2 separate regions of the Homo sapiens genome follow, and region 2 is linked to region 1. The links are contacts of gene promoters, found by promoter capture Hi-C in blood cells and fetal thymus (Javierre and others, 2016). All regions are on one chromosome and are shown on one strand. Each heading gives the region's core, a stretch centred on a gene start or on the middle of the fragment in contact. The rest is flanking DNA. Distances are from core to core; before and after follow the strand shown. Region 1 holds the start of CEACAM1 (CEA cell adhesion molecule 1). Region 2 holds the start of CEACAM5 (CEA cell adhesion molecule 5).

Evidence for each region. The method cuts DNA at HindIII sites, captures the fragments that hold promoters and counts their contacts. A CHiCAGO score of 5 or more calls a contact.
Region 2: the fragment with the promoter of CEACAM5 here is called in contact with the fragment with the promoter of CEACAM1 in region 1 in 3 of 17 cell types (neutrophils, erythroblasts and naive B cells); the score reaches 11.5 in neutrophils.

The regions. Positions count from the first base shown.
Region 1 is chr19:42,527,231-42,534,922 of GRCh38, reverse strand. It overlaps CEACAM1 (CEA cell adhesion molecule 1), which reads left to right and starts at 6,442. Exons shown (of 9, transcript NM_001712.5): 1 at 6,442-6,612; 2 at 7,523-7,692. The coding sequence starts at 6,549. All of the region lies in intron 2 of LIPE-AS1 (LIPE antisense RNA 1), which reads right to left. RefSeq lists enhancers at 5,280-6,142, 6,365-6,434. The HindIII fragment of the contact is 21,112 bases long and covers 1-7,692 here.
Region 2 is chr19:41,702,184-41,709,875 of GRCh38, reverse strand. CEACAM5 (CEA cell adhesion molecule 5) reads right to left here and starts at 1,250. Exons shown (of 10, transcript NM_004363.6): 1 at 1,081-1,250; 2 at 1-196. The coding sequence starts at 1,144. RefSeq lists silencers at 2,860-2,909, 2,940-2,989, 3,010-3,129. The HindIII fragment of the contact is 18,236 bases long and covers 1-7,692 here.

The sequences.
Region 1 (7,692 bases), core at 5,193-7,692:
GATATTATTATTATACAGTGCATGCCTGTACTAAAATGTCTCATGTACCTCATATATATATATATACACCTACTATGTAACCACAAAAATTAAAGATTAAAAAAAAATAATTCCCCATTGCTCCCTACCCCCAGATCTTGATAATCTCTAATCTACTTTCTGTCTCTGAATTTACTTATTCTTGATTTTTCATATAAATGGCATCATACACATATGTCACTTTGTTTCTGGCTTATTTCACTTAGCATAATGTTTCCAAGGTCCATCTATGTTGCAGCATATGTCAGAGCTTCACTCCATTTTAAGGCTGATTGACATTCTGTTGTATGTATCACCATATTTGTTTATCCATTCATGTGTTGATGGACACTTGGGTTGTTTCTACACTTTACCTATTGTGAATAATGCTGCAGTGAACATTCCCATGCAAATATCTGTTTGAGTCCCTGTTTTCAATTCTTTGGACATATACCTAACAATGAAATTGCTATTTCATATGATAATTCTGTGATCAGCTTTTTAAGGAAAAGCCAAACCGTTTCCCACAGTGACTGTGCCATTTTATATTCCCACCAGCAATGTATGAGGATTCCAACTTCTCCACATATTGCCAACATTTCTTATTTAACATTTTAAATGAATTGTAGCAATTGTTATAGGTGTGATGTGGTGTCTTACTGTGGTTTTGATTTGCATTTCACTAGTGACTATTGATGCTAAGTGTCTTTTCATGTGCTTATTGACTATTTGTATATCATTTAGACAAATATCCATCTGAGTCCTTTGCCCATTTTTGTTGTTGTTGTTGAGATCGAGTCTCACTCTGTTGCCCAGGCTGGAGTGCAGTGGCACAATCTTGGCTCACTGCAAGCTCCGCCTCCTGGGTTCACCCCATTCTCTTGCCTCAGCCTCCCAAATAGCTGGGACTACAGGCGCCTGCCACCACGCCCGGCTAATTTTTTGTATTTTTAGTAGAGACAGGGTTTCACCGTGTAAGCCAGGATGGTCTTGAACTCCTGACCTCGTGATCTGCCCGCCTCAGCCTCCCAAAGTGCTGGGATTACAGGCGTGAGCCACCGCATCCAGCCCCTTTGCCCATTTTTAATCAGGTTTTTGGGTTTTTGTTATTATTGAGTTGTAGCAGTTCTTTATATTTTCTGGACATAAAACCTTATTCATATAATGGTCTGCAAATTTTTTCTCCCATTCGGTGGGTGATCTTTTCACTTTCTTGATAATGTCCTTTGATGCACAAAAGGCTTTCATCTTGATAAAGTCCAGTTTATTTTTCCTTTTGTTGTTCATGTTTTTGTGTCATATCTAAAAAGTCCATTGCCACATCTGAGGTGATAAAGACTTATCCTTATGTTTTCTTCTGAGAGTTTCTTATGATTTTAGCTCTTATACTTAACTCATTGATCTGTTTTAATTTTTGAATATGGTGAGAAATAGAGTTCCAAAATTTCATTTCTTTGCAGGTGGTTATCCAGTTGTCCCAGCATCATTATTTGAAAAGATTATTCTTCCTCCATTCAATTAACTTGGCACCTGTACTAGTCGGGGTCCTCAGAGAGACAGAGAAAACGGGATAAAGATATAGTTGTAGATATAGAAATAGATCTAAATATATGAGGGGATTTGTTAGAGGAATTGGCTTGTGTGAATACGGAGGCTGAGAAGTCCCATGATTAGCCAGTTACATGCTGGAAAACCAGGGAAGCTGGCAGCATGGCTCAGTTCTGACCAAAGAAGCCATGGTGTACCCTCAGTCCATGGCCAAAGGCCAAACAACCTGGAGTTCTAATGTCCAAAGACAAAAGGAAAAGGGTGTCCCAGCTCCAGGAGAGAGAAAGAGAGAATTCACCATCCCTCTGCCTTTGTGCTCTATCCAGGCCCTCAGCCAAGTGGATGGTGCCCACCCACAGTGAGTGAGGGCAGGTCTTCCTTACTGAGTTCACTGACTCCAATGCCAGTCTCTTCGGGAAACACCCTGACAGTCATACCCAGATACAAGGCTTTACCAGCTATGAGGGTGTCTCTTAATCCAGGCAAATTGACACCTAAAAAACCACAGCACCCTTGTCAAAGATCAACTGACTGTAAATGTGAGGGTTTACTTCCAGACTGTCAAATCTAATCCACTGGTGTAAGTGTATCTTTATGCCAGTTCCACACTCTTCAGATTACAGTAACTTTGTAGTAAATTTTCTTTTTTAAAAAATGTGCATAATCATAGGGTACAAGTCCAATTTTGCTATTCTGATATATTGCATTGTGGTAAAGTCAAGGCCTTCAGTGCATTCGTCACTGGAGCAAGGCACACTGTACCCACCATATAGTAAGTTTTCGGATAAGGAAATGTGAGTCCTGGCCAGGCGCGGTGGCTCACGCCTGTAATCCCAGAACTTTGGGAGGCTGAGGCAGGCAGATCACCTGAGGTCGGGAGTTCGAGATCAGCCTGACTAACATGAAGAAACCCCGTCTCTACTAAAAATACAAAAAATTAGCCGGGCATGTTGGTGCATGTCTGTAATTCCAGCTACTCGGGAGCTGAGGCAGGAGAACCGCTTGAACCCGGGAGGCGGAGGTTGCGGTGAGCTGAGATCGTGCCATTGCACTCCAGCCTGGGCAACAAGAGTGAAACTCCATCTCAAAAAAAAAAAGAAGAAAGAAAGAAATGTGAGTCCTCCAGTTTTCTTTTTCAAGACTGTTTCAGCTATTCTATCTGTCTTTATTTTTTGTTAATGTATTTCAATAGTTCTTAATGGGGACCATTCCCTGACCTGCTTCCAGGGAAATCTGGCAATCTGGAGACCTTTTTAGGAACTTGAACTAAGTAGAAAAAATATTTTTTTTTCTTTTTTTTAAGACAGAGTTTCGCTCTAGTCACCCAGGCTGGAATGCAATGGCGCAGTCTTGGTTCACTGCAACCTCCGCCTCCTGGGTTCAAGCGATTCTCCTGCCTCAGCCTCCAGAGTAGATGGGATTACAGGTGTCCACCACCACGCCCAGCTAATCTTTGTATTTTTAGTAGAGACGGGGTTTCACCATGTTGGCCAGGCTGGTCTTGAACTCCTGACCTCAGGTGATCCACCCACCTCAGCCTCCCAAAGTGCTGGGATTACAGGCATGAGCCACCGCGCCCAGTCAATATCCTCATTTTATTTGCTGAGTTGCTATGTTAAAGTGTGAGTTGCCTGCCATGAATGAATGAAGAGACACTTAAAGCACTTGCCTGCATGACGATGTGCACCACCTTCTCTCTCCCCCTGTCCTGTGCCCTCAGGCCCTCTTCACCCAGGCCCAGGTGGCCCCATCCAGTGGCCTCTACAAATGGATTCCTCCTCAAGCTGGCCCACAGACCTTCCTTCCAGCAAGTGACTCACCTGCAACCTCCTCCACACACCTGAGCCAGCGGTTCTCAGTTCTTCTCTGAGGTCCCCCAGGAAGGGTGATGATCTCATGTAGGTTCACTCGCATTAGGTGACACATTCTCACAAACAAACTGGTCTGTGCAGTAAAGCACACAGCCACAACTCCTGAGGATGTTTTGCCATTGCCAAGTGTTGTCATGAGATGAGAGGTAAGAAAACAACATTTCACATCATGATTTAGCTCTAAATGACTTTTTTAATTGTATTTTTTAATTGACACCTAATAATTGTACATATTTATGGGTCCATAGCGATGTGATACATATAAGGTACAGTGATAAGGTCAGGGTGATTAGCATATCCATCATCTCAAACATTTAGCATTTCTTTGTGTTAGGAACATTCAATATCCCCTTTCTAGCTACTTGGAACTATATATTATTGTTAACTATAGTCAGGCCGGTTGCAGTGGGTCACACCTATAATCTTAGCACTTTGGAAGGCCGAGACGGGAGGATTGCTTGAGCCCAGGAGCTCGAGACCAGCCTGACCAACATAATAAGATCAGTCTCTACAAAAAAATCAAAACACTTGGCTGGGCATGGTGGCTGTAATCCTAGAACTTTGGGAGGCCTAGGCGGAGGATCACTTGAGCTTAGGAGTTCAAGGCCAGCCTGGGCAACATAGTGATACCCTGTCTCTTTATTTAAAAAAAAATTGAAAAATAAAACAAAAAATTAGCCAGGCGTGGTGGCGTGCACCTATAGTTCCAGCTACATGGGAGACTGAGGCAGGAAGATCACCTGATCGCAGGAGGTTGAGGCTGCAGTGTACTCCAGACCCTGTCTCAAAAAAAAAAAAAAATCTGTAGTCATCCTACAGTGGTATAGAACATTAGAACTTATTCCTCCTCCTATCTAGCTGTATTTTTTTTTTTTTTTTTTTTTGAGACGGAGTCTCGCTCTGTCGCCCAGGCCGGACTGCGGACTGCAGTGGCGCAATCTCGGCTCACTGCAAGCTCCGCTTCCCAGGTTCACGCCATTCTCCTGCCTCAGCCTCCCGAGTAGCTGGGACTACAGGCGCCCGCCACCGCGCCCGGCTAATTTTTTGTATTTTTAGTAGAGACGGGGTTTCACCTTGTTAGCCAGGATGGTCTCGATCTCCTGACCTCATGATCCACCCGCCTCGGCCTCCCAAAGTGCTGGGATTACAGGCGTGAGCCACCGCGCCTGGCCTTATTTTTTTTTAAGATGGAGTCTCACTCTGTCGCCACACTGAAGTGCAATGGTGCAATCTTGGCTCATTGCAACCTCTGCCTCCCGGGTTCCAGTGATTCTCCTGCCTCAGCCTCCAAGTAGCTGGGACTACAGGTGCCCACGACCACACCTGGCTAATTTTTTGTATTTTTAGTAGAGACGGGGTTTCACCATGTTGGCCAGGATGGTCTCAATCTCTTGACCTCATGATCCACCCGCCTCGGCCTCCCAAAGTGCTGGGATTACAGGCATGAGCCACTGTGCCCGGCCTATCTAGCTGTAATTTTATATCCTTTAACACATCTTTCCCTGTCCCTCCCTTCCTCTACCCTTCCCAGCCTCTGGTATGCTCTGTTCTACTTTTTCCTTCCATGAGATCAACTGTTTTTAGGTTCCACATATTAGTAAGAACATGTGATGTTTAACTTTCTGTTCCTAGCCCACTTCCATTCATGTTGCCACATGTGACAGGATTTCATTCTCAAGCCCCCAAAGGCACCTCACTGGGCCTTTGTTTTTTTGTTTTGTTTTGTTTTTGCTTTTGTTTTTCAAACCTCTGGGACAGATGGCTCCTTCTAAGGCAGCCCATCCCCCTGGTGGACAGTTCTCTCCAATCTTGACAGAAGTCCTCTGGACAACTCACGTCCTCTCCCTGGGCTCATCCTGCACCGCATGGAGCTGGGCAGCCTGGGGACCCGCAGTGAACAGGACCTGGGGTGACTTGACCTTGAAGCCTGGAGGTCAGAGCCCACATCTGCCCAGGGGTCAGGGCCAGCTCACATCATGTAGACCCTGGTCAGCATCCCTGGGGCAGCCCTTGACAAGGCTGCAGGCCTTGTCTTGCCCTCCAGGGGGAGACATTGCACACAGACAACACTCAGGAAACATTCCCCTGGTCATGAACCTGGCTTTGCTAAGGAGGTGAAGGTAGAGCCCACTTTCCATCCCTTGCTCCAAAACACCCTTCCAGGCCCTCCCATGTACCTGCTCTGTCCCTTCCTGGGTCCTCTGAGGACCCTGTTCTGTGAGGGGTCCCTGTGCAGCTCCCCATTCCCTCCTGGCACCACCTGTGGGGAAGGTGCGGTGACCACAGGACAATCAGCCTCGCAGAGGACAGAGACCACCCAGGATGGTCAGGGAGAACATGGACAGGCCTTGAGCCTCAGCTCAAGGGAGGGAGGGTCCCCCTGAAGTCTTCCCCAAGGACAGTAGAGCCCAGAGCCACCCACCTCCCTCTATCACAGTCCTCTCTTCCCAGGACACACAGGACACCTCCCCCTCCATATCCGGGAGCTGCAGCTCCACCTGAGACCCCTGGACTTGGGTCTCTGTCCCTGGGTTAGAGGCCAGGCTGGTGACACTAGAGACAGAGGGCTGGTCCCTCCCCAGTCATCCCCCAGTGAGCCCCTTTCCATCCCCCAGAGCCACCTCTGTCACCTTCCTGCTGGGTGTCTTCCTACCTTCCCAGCACACTGAAGAGCATGGGGAGACCTGGCAGCTCACTGTGTTGCAAAGAAAATAATTACCACATTTGGATATGCCAGGGTTCTCTGTGTGCTGCTGACAGACCCATAGCCAGGACACAATAGAGGTCAGTGCTGGAGAGGGGGGATCCTCCTCCCCTGATGGGGACAGAGGTCTCATCAGCCTTGATTCTCAAAGTGTGGTCTGGGAAACCAAAATGTAGACAGAAAGGAAAGAGAAAGTAAGGACAAAGGTAGGAATGAGAGGAGAGGAAACAGAGCTTCCTGGACAAACCCCGCCCCAGCACACATGATCAGACAAAGCTCTGGGCCCCAGGGAGGAGGCTCAGCACAGAGAGTGGAAAACAGCAGAGGTGACAGAGCAGCCGTGCTCGAAGCGTTCCTGGAGCCCAAGCTCTCCTCCACAGGTGAAGACAGGGCCAGCAGGAGACACCATGGGGCACCTCTCAGCCCCACTTCACAGAGTGCGTGTACCCTGGCAGGGGCTTCTGCTCACAGGTGAGGGGAGGACACCCTGGGAAGGGGCGGAAAGAGGGCGCACAGAGAATGGCTAGGGTCCTCTGGGGAGGATGGAGCTCTAAGAGGGGACAGAGGGCTTCTCTTGGAGCCAAATAGGAGAGAGGACATGAAAGGGATAGAGATCATAAAAGGAAAGTCTCAGTGATCTGAAACTGTTAGTGAATAAACAATCTCCCATTTTTTACCTTTTCCAACTGAATCATCAATGAGCAATAAATTTCAAAAACTGCTGACAATAATCACAATTTAAGTCAGCGTGACAATTAAGGAAAACATTTTAAAAGGGGCATTAAACAGAGCCCTGAGCCACCAACCTCAGATATTGGCAAATAAACCCCAGGACATGAAGAGCCCTGGGAATGCTCACTAACTCATCCACAGGAGTCTGCAGCCTATCCCAGGCACTGGGGTGCAACCAACATCACACAAATCCCTGCCCTCACGGAGCTCACGCTCTCATGGGTGGGGAAGACAGACAAGCAAAGAGATCTAGAATGTGAGGTCAGGTGTTGACAAGAGCCCTGGAGGGAACAGAGCAGAAAAAGGTCAGAAAGGGAATACCCAGGGTCTCTAGGGGAGGTGTCAGGGAAAGGATCTCCCAAGAGCACCCTGATGTGATCAAGATCTGAGGGCAGTGGGGAGGGAGCCATGCGGATCCCTGGGGAAGGGCATTCCAGAGAAATGACAAGGTCAGAGGCACTAAGGGAATGGGAGTCACACTGCTGACCTTGACCCAGTAGGACACACACACACACACACACACACACACACACACACACACACACTCCAAGGTGGAGGGGTGAAGACACCTGCTCAGGACCCAAGGCCCCATTTTTCTACCCTAATGCATAGGTCCCAATATTGACTGATGCTCTCTCCTCTCTCCTAGCCTCACTTCTAACCTTCTGGAACCCGCCCACCACTGCCCAGCTCACTACTGAATCCATGCCATTCAATGTTGCAGAGGGGAAGGAGGTTCTTCTCCTTGTCCACAATCTGCCCCAGCAACTTTTTGGCTACAGCTGGTACAAAGGGGAAAGAGTGGATGGCAACCGTCAA
Region 2 (7,692 bases), core at 1-2,500, 820 kb after region 1:
TGAGTTCCTATTACATATCCTATAATTTGACGGTTGCCATCCACTCTTTCACCTTTGTACCAGCTGTAGCCAAAAAGATGCTGGGGCAGATTGTGGACAAGTAGAAGCACCTCCTTCCCCTCTGCGACATTGAACGGCGTGGATTCAATAGTGAGCTTGGCAGTGGTGGGCGGGTTCCAGAAGGTTAGAAGTGAGGCTAGGAGAGAGCAGAGAGCATCGGTCAATATTGGGACCTATGCATTAGGGTGGAAAAATGGGGTCCTGGGTCCTGAGCAGGTCTCTTCATCCCCCAGCCCTGGAGTGAGTGAGTGTGTGTGTGTGTGTGTGTGTGTGTGTGTCCTACTAGGTCAAGGTCAGCAGTGTGTCTCCTATTTCCTTAGCACCTCTGACCTTGGCATTTCCCTGTGTGGAATCTGCTTTTCCAGGGGTCTTCACGGCTCCCTCCCCATTGCCTTCAGGTCCTGCTCACATCAGGGCATTCTTGGGAGATCCCTTCCCTGACACCTCCTCTAGAGACCCTGGGTCTTCCTTTTCTGACCTTTCCCTGCTCTATTCCCTCCAGGGCTCTTGTCAACACCTGACCTCACATTCTAGATCTCTTTGTATGTCTGTCTTCCTCCCCATGAGAGCATGAGCTTCATGAGGGCAGGGATTTGTGTGATCTTGGTTGCACCCCAGTGCCTGGGACAGGCTGCAGATTCCTGTGGATGAGTTCATGAGGGTTCCCAGGGCCCTCCACAGCCTGGGGCTTATTTTCCAATGTCCGCGGTAGGCGGATGAGGACAGTGTTTCATGCCCTGGTTATGTTTTTATTTAAAGTGTCATCTGATGCAGTTATTATGATTTTTAAAAACGTAGTGGCCAGTGACAATTAACTAGGAAAATAGAACTCTTGAGGTTTTCCTGCCCCTTTCCAATTCCAGTTCAATTTGATTTTTCTGGTGTGACTCCTGTCCCTCTCTGATGTCCTCTTCCCTATTCAGGCTCCAACAGGAGCCCTCTGTCCGTCTCACAGCCCTGTCCTACCCAGGAGACCCCAGCTCCCTCCTCCCACCCTCTCCCAGGTTGTCCTCCCTTCACCTGTGAGCAGGAGCCTCTGCCAGGGGATGCACCATCTGTGGGGAGGGGCCGAGGGAGACTCCATGGTCTCTGCTGTCTGCTCTGTCCTCCTCTGTGGAGAAGAGCTTGAGTTCCAGGAACGTTTTGTCAAGGCTGCTGTGACTGTCTGGTCTGCTGTCCTTCCTCCCTCTGCCCTGAGTCTCTTCCTAGGGCAGGAGTACTTCTCAGCATCACGTGGGTCATGGGTGTGGTCTTTATTCAGGTGTCCTCTGTCCCCTCCCCTCTCATTTCTGCCTCTTTTGTCCCTCCTCTTTTTTCCCTTCTATTTTCAGTTCCTCAGACAAATCTTTTCGGCAAGGTGGATGGACCCCCATCCCCTGGGAGGACAACCTGTCTTCCCCAGTGCTGACCTCTGCTGTGTTCTGTCCTTGGGTCTGTCACACCAGGGGGATTATTTTCCTTTGTGACAGAGAAACCCAGCAGGGTCCCGGGTCTCCCCATGCTCTCCAGGGCTCTGGGAAGGTGGGATGATGCCCAACAGGAAGGTGACAGAGGTGGCTCTGGGGGCTAGAAAAAGGCTCACTGGGTGGTGGCTGGGGAGGGACCAGCCCTCTGTCTCCAGTACCACCAACCCCGCCACTGACCCAGGGATGGAGACCCAGGCCCAGAGGTCTCAGGAGTCCCCAGATCCTGCATGTGGAGGGGGAGGTGTCTTGTGTGTCCTGGAAAGAGAGGACTGTGGTGGAGGGAGGTGGGTGACTCTGGGCTCTGCTGTCCTTGGGGAAGGCTCCAGGGGGACCCTCCCTCTCCGTGTCTGTTGGCTGAGCTGCGGCTCAGGGCCTGTCCATGTTCTCCCTGACAGTCCTGGGTGGTCTCTGTCCTCTGCGAGGCTGACTGTCCTGTGATCACCCCACCTTCCCCATGGTGGTACCAGGAGGGAGTCTGGAGTTGCACAGGGACCCCTGGCAGAACAGGGTCCTCATAGGACCCAGAAAGGAACAGAGCAGGTATGTGGGAGAGATCAGAAGGGTCTGTTGGAGCAAGGGATGGAAACCAGGCTCCACCTCCACTTCCTTAGCAAAGCCAGGTTCCTGTCCAGGGGAATCCGTTTCCTGAGTGATGTCTGTGTGCAATGTCACCCCCTGGAGGGCAAGAGGAGACCTCCGGCCTTGTCTGGAACTGCCCTAGGGATGCTGACCAGGGTCGACGTGGTGTGAGCTGACCCTGAACTCTGGATTAGGCTGCAGGGTCAGGCCGGAGGATCTATTCCCTGCAGGCCTCTGTCCTCCCTTCTGAAGCTCTGGGGGTTGAGGCCTCATTCCTGGGGCAGCCGCGGGCACTTGCTGGCCTCCTCCCATGCTGGTGCCAGTGCCCCTGTGTCCACATGGAACAGACTCTGACTGCTGGGGGCCACACGGAGGTGATATGCTTCTTTTTAGAGATCTCCCACACATTTAACCAGTATTTATGGAGCATCTGTTCCGTGTCAGGCACTGGGCTGGGCCCTGGGATTCCACAGAGAGCAGGACAGACGTGGTCCCTGTCACAGAGTTTTCCTGTAACCGGGAGACAGGCGCTCAGTGAACTTCATGGGACTGAGGAGTTAATGGTAATGACAGGGCTGTGAGGTGACAGCATAGGGGGCGTCGGAGCCTGTGAGAGACTGAGCTGTCCTGGAGATCACAGGGAGCTGCCCTGGGAGACGCCCTTTCAGCTGAGCCCGGGGAAGGAGGGGGTGTAGGGGACAGGAGCTGCCTGCAGAGGGCAGCCGACAGGCCTCAAGTGGGCGGCCGACAAGCCTCAGGTGGGCGGCCGATAGGCTGCAGGGAGGAGCTGACAGAGTCCGTGTGAGGAGCTCGGAGGGCGAGGAGGACGTGGGCCGAGGTGACCCGGGTGAGGGTGGACCCTGCTGGGCTGTGGGCCCGGCTGAGGGAGGTCAGCAGCCCCTGGGGAGGCTCCAGGGTGGGAGGAACTCTGCCGCCCTCTGGTGGACAGGAGGGAAGTGGGGACAGCAGCGGCCCCAGACCAGGCTGTTTTACTCAACACTGATCTCTAGACATTGAACACGGGTCATGCACATGTTATGCCAAAGTGCTACCAGGTTTCAGCTCGGTGAGCCCCAGTCTCTGTGGCTACAAGTGTACTGTCCTCCCTCTTTCACAATCAGATGTCCCCAAATGCAGATTTTTGTCACCTTTTGTGACTTTGCTTTTGTCGGCAGGAGGCTGCGCTGTGCATGCTCCCAGGGGCAGTGATGTCTGGGGCTAAGCGTGTGCGGGGATCTGGGAGTAGAAGATTGTATTAGTCTGTCCTCGCATTGCTATAAAGAAATACCTGAGACTGGGTAATTTATAAAGAAAAGAGGTTTAATTCGCTCATCATTCTGCAGTTGTACAGGAAGCATAGTGGCTTCTGCTCCTGGGGAGGCCTCAGAAAACTTACAATCATTCTGGACGGTGAAGGGGAAACAGGAACGTCTTACATGGCAGAGCATGAGTAAGAGAGAGAGAGAGAGAGGGGAGAGGTGCTACACACTTTTAAACAACCAGATCATGTGAGATCTCTATCACAGAAACAGCATCAAAGCAGAAAATCCACCCGCATTATCCAATCACTTCTCACAAGGCCCCACCTCCAACATTGGGGTTTACAATTTGACATGAGATTTGGGCGGGGACATAGATCCAAATCATATTTGAGAGAGAGGGGCATGAGGAGAAGGTGAATGTTGGGGTAGCAGAGAGGAGCAGGGACAAGTCAACCTCACTTCTCACTCCCTGGGGACCAGAACAGGAGAGCCCGACTCTGGGGGCACAGCACCACACACTCTGTGTGTCCGTGCATCAGGGGAGGTGGGAGCTGCTTCTCTGTTCATGGGACCTGGCCTCACCTGCTGAGATGTCTTCACACTTAGTCCCATCCTGGGCTGCAGCCCCACAGAGCCTGTGTCCTCCTCTCCTCTCCTGCCCATTCCTGGATTTTTCTTCCTGAACCATCTTCTCCCATCTGTGGCTTCACCTGCTCCCGTTTCAGGCAGCTGCCCCTGGATCATTGCCCTGTCACCATCTCTGGGCTCACTGGCCTCTGCCATTTGTTCTGAGACTTGAGCCCTGAGCCCTGAGCCCTGTGAGGGAGGAAGAGTGAAGTGGGGTGGGCGCTGTCCAAGGTGCTGCCCTCTCTGGACAGCTTGAGTGAGGGACCCTGATGTGTCACCTGGGAGGAGGCTCCGGGAGGGAGCTGTGTCAGGGATGCCTGGATCAGGGGGATGGGGCACCTACACCAGGGTGAGCTGGACCTGTGGACTGCAGGAACCCTGCTCTGTGTCATCCATCAGCTCCTCGAGCCCCGTCTTCCTCTCTGTACCTGATTCTCTGGTGTGATCCCTGAGCCCGCGCTAGAGTCCTCCTCACAATGCCTAATGGTCAGATCTATGTGTGGAGACCTAACGGTGGGGGGGTGGGGAGGTCTCGTGTGCTCACACAGAGTGCCCTGGGGACAGGCTTTATGACCTCCCTTGTCCCAATCCCACAACAAGATCTGGACAGTGGGCCGGGTCAGATAAAGTCAGAATCCACGAGAAGGGTGTGTGTCCTGGCAGTGCTGAGGTTTGTGCCCCCAGCTTTACTCTCAGTCTGTTTGCAGATACATTTATGTTGTGCACCTGCAGTTGGCTGGGAAGCCTCATGTCCTTAAATCCTTAGTTATTCCTGTGCAGGTCATGAGGGGCCTGTACCTGGGTACAATGAGGACTATCTGATTAGGGTGGGTGTATTTTACATGGTGGGCTTTCCCTCTCCCAGTGTTTCTTGGATGTAGTCAAATACATAAGATAAAATATGCCACATTAATCATGTTAAGTGTACAATTAAATGCCGTTAATTATATTCACAATATTCTACATCCTCACCACTATATTTTTTTTTCCAGAACATTTTCATCATCTCACATAGAAACTTCATACTATTAATCATTAACTCTCCACCTTCCCCTGCCCCTAGCCCTTGGTAGCCACTGATGCTATCTTTCTCTTTTTTTTTGAGACAGAGTCTCATTCTGTCACCCAGGCTGGAGTGCAGTGGTGTGATCTCGGCTCACTGCAACCTCTGCCTCCCGGGTTCAAGCAATTCTCCTGCCTCGGCCTCCCAGAGGCACCTAGGTGACCTAACTCTTAAGAGCCTGGGGCCGGCAGGTGGGTGTCCTAGGCATAAATGGTGCCCACTGGACTGGAGGAAGGTGAGAAGCCATGGGTATTCCATGTCTTCTCCCAGCTTCCCAGCTCCTGGGTTGGTGCTGTCCTGCAGTAGGCAGTGGGTAGATGGGCATGGCTGCACGTTAGGCTGGGAAACATGTCGTCCTCTCAGACATTGTCACTGCAGAAGGAGGATTCTGTTCACAGGCCTGGTATGGGCATATGGGAGAGACCACCCTGTTCTCATCAGGGGCTTAGACACTGGTGTTCCCACTCCTGGTGCTGCCTCCTGCTTTCCCTGCCCTGGCCCTCAAGGAAGAGCGGCTCCTGGTCAAAGCTCCATCTCTCTCTCTGAGGCTTCAGCATGGTCTCATTGGTGCAGGGGTCTGGGTAAACCTCAGAGAGAGAGGCTCTGAAGAGCGGGGCACCTGCTGGGGATGCAGAAGGGTCCCCACTATGCTTAAGGGGAGTAATCCTGAGGGTCCCAAGGCTCCTCACCACTACCAGGTGCCAAGAAACTCCCAGCAAATTGGGGCTGCCTTGTGGCGAAGCACCTCCAAGCCTCGCTGCCTGCCATGTGCAGTGATTGGTGGATCCCAGTTAGGGGCATCTTGGCAGGTGGTCACAGATTCAGGGCTGGACTTGGTGCTCACAGTCCATATGTGTTGTAGACCCCAGGCAGGGTTCTGTGGCATGGTTTTGGATGTTCACAGGTATCTGCCCTGGAGAAGTGGGCAGTAATTTGACTTCCAGAAGTTCTTGACATCTGCAGATCCGGGCGACAGCCAAGTGTTCAAGGTTCCAGTGACCACTGGTGTGAGGGCACAAGGTAAGCATCAGGCCACCAGTGAGGCTCACCACCCTCCAGGCTGGTGCCCCTGGGAACAGGAGCGACATTCTAGGAACACAGCTTTATCGAGCAAGGTTAAGCTCCCTAGCCCCCTATTTTGACCAGGGAAGCTCAGGCCTCTGCTCTTCGTGGGGCTGGTTGCAGGCAGCTGACTTTGGGGAGGGGGCCCAGGAGCTGCCTTTAGTTTTGCATTTAAGATTTAAAGGGAGAAAAGACAATACATTCTGCCAGGGAACAAAAATTACAGGCAGCATATTGACTGAAGGGCACTCCTGTCATCACTGCAACACACATGGAATGCTTTTTCTAAGAAAAAAATATCTGATTTAGCTTTACCAGCAACTGTGATGCATGTTTTATTATTCTAGTTTACTGTTAGTGTAACTTTTGTAGTTTTAGCACTGGTAATAATTTTATATGGGCTCTCTTAGGATTTTAGACTCTCATTCATTCACATAAAGGTCTTCTTCTCTCTGAATAGTAATGCGATTTCCCTTTTTCTATTTCCTCTGCATATTCCTGTGTAGAGAGCATACAGTATACACCCTCAAGAGGTGGAAAGCATCTGACTAACAGAAAAAGGGTCCAAATGCTGCTGGTAATGGTGATGGGGACACAGGTGGAGGTAATTCAAAGAGGTGTGAGAAAACTTATCTTGAGAACCTTCTCCTCAAAAATCACATGGAGAAGGCACCTCTTAGGCCTGTCACATTGTTGAAATGGACAAGGGACAGAAATAGAGGTCATTAATTCGAGGATCAAATCCAAGAGTGGGCAACTGATTCTTCCCAGTGTCTAAGAGGTGGATGGGTGAATGGTGAGAATATTAAAAACACCCTTCCTCTCTTCCTCCTAATGAAGGAGCACCCAAAGCTCTCAGGAATCAGAGAGGGCCCAGGGCTGGGGAAGCAGGGCACTGTCACCACACAGGGGTTGGGAGTGAGACACCAACACTATCCAGTCAGTGATAACATTTACTTAGGGGGATAGATTCTTCTTTAAGGAATGATCTAAAAGTATATGAATTTGAACATAAAGAGAAAAAAGAGCATAAAGCACTTCTAGCCTAGATTTTTCCTCTTAATAAAACATGTTTTCTAATGACAGATGTGGCTATGTTCATGGCTGAGATGTCTCCTAGATGGTGAGAGCCTCAAAGTGGACTGTCCACTGCCTTAGGCTGTGGGCTCACGTCATACATTTCCCTTCCCAAAGTCTACAGAATTCCCCACATTCCACTTTGTAATGTAACCCAGTGAGTGTCATTCCAGTTGTGGTTACAGGCCCTTGGAAAACCCACTCTGCTCCTGCTGTGAGGTACAGGCAGCCATGTGGCATCAACTCTAAACACTCTAAATGTATCTTCTCCTGGGACATCAAACTGCTGATTAAGTAAAACTCTTTTGGAAAGATTTTGAAGTCTGCAGTTTCTACCCCTCTCACACTTGTGATTCTTCTCCCAAGAGGTGAAGGATTTCGCTGATGAGTCACTTTTAGAGACTGACGTAGATCAGTGATTCTGCCAGAAGCAATTTTGCTCTCCAGGGGACATTTGGAAAGTCTGGAGACATTGTTGGTTGTTAGAGCTTGGGGA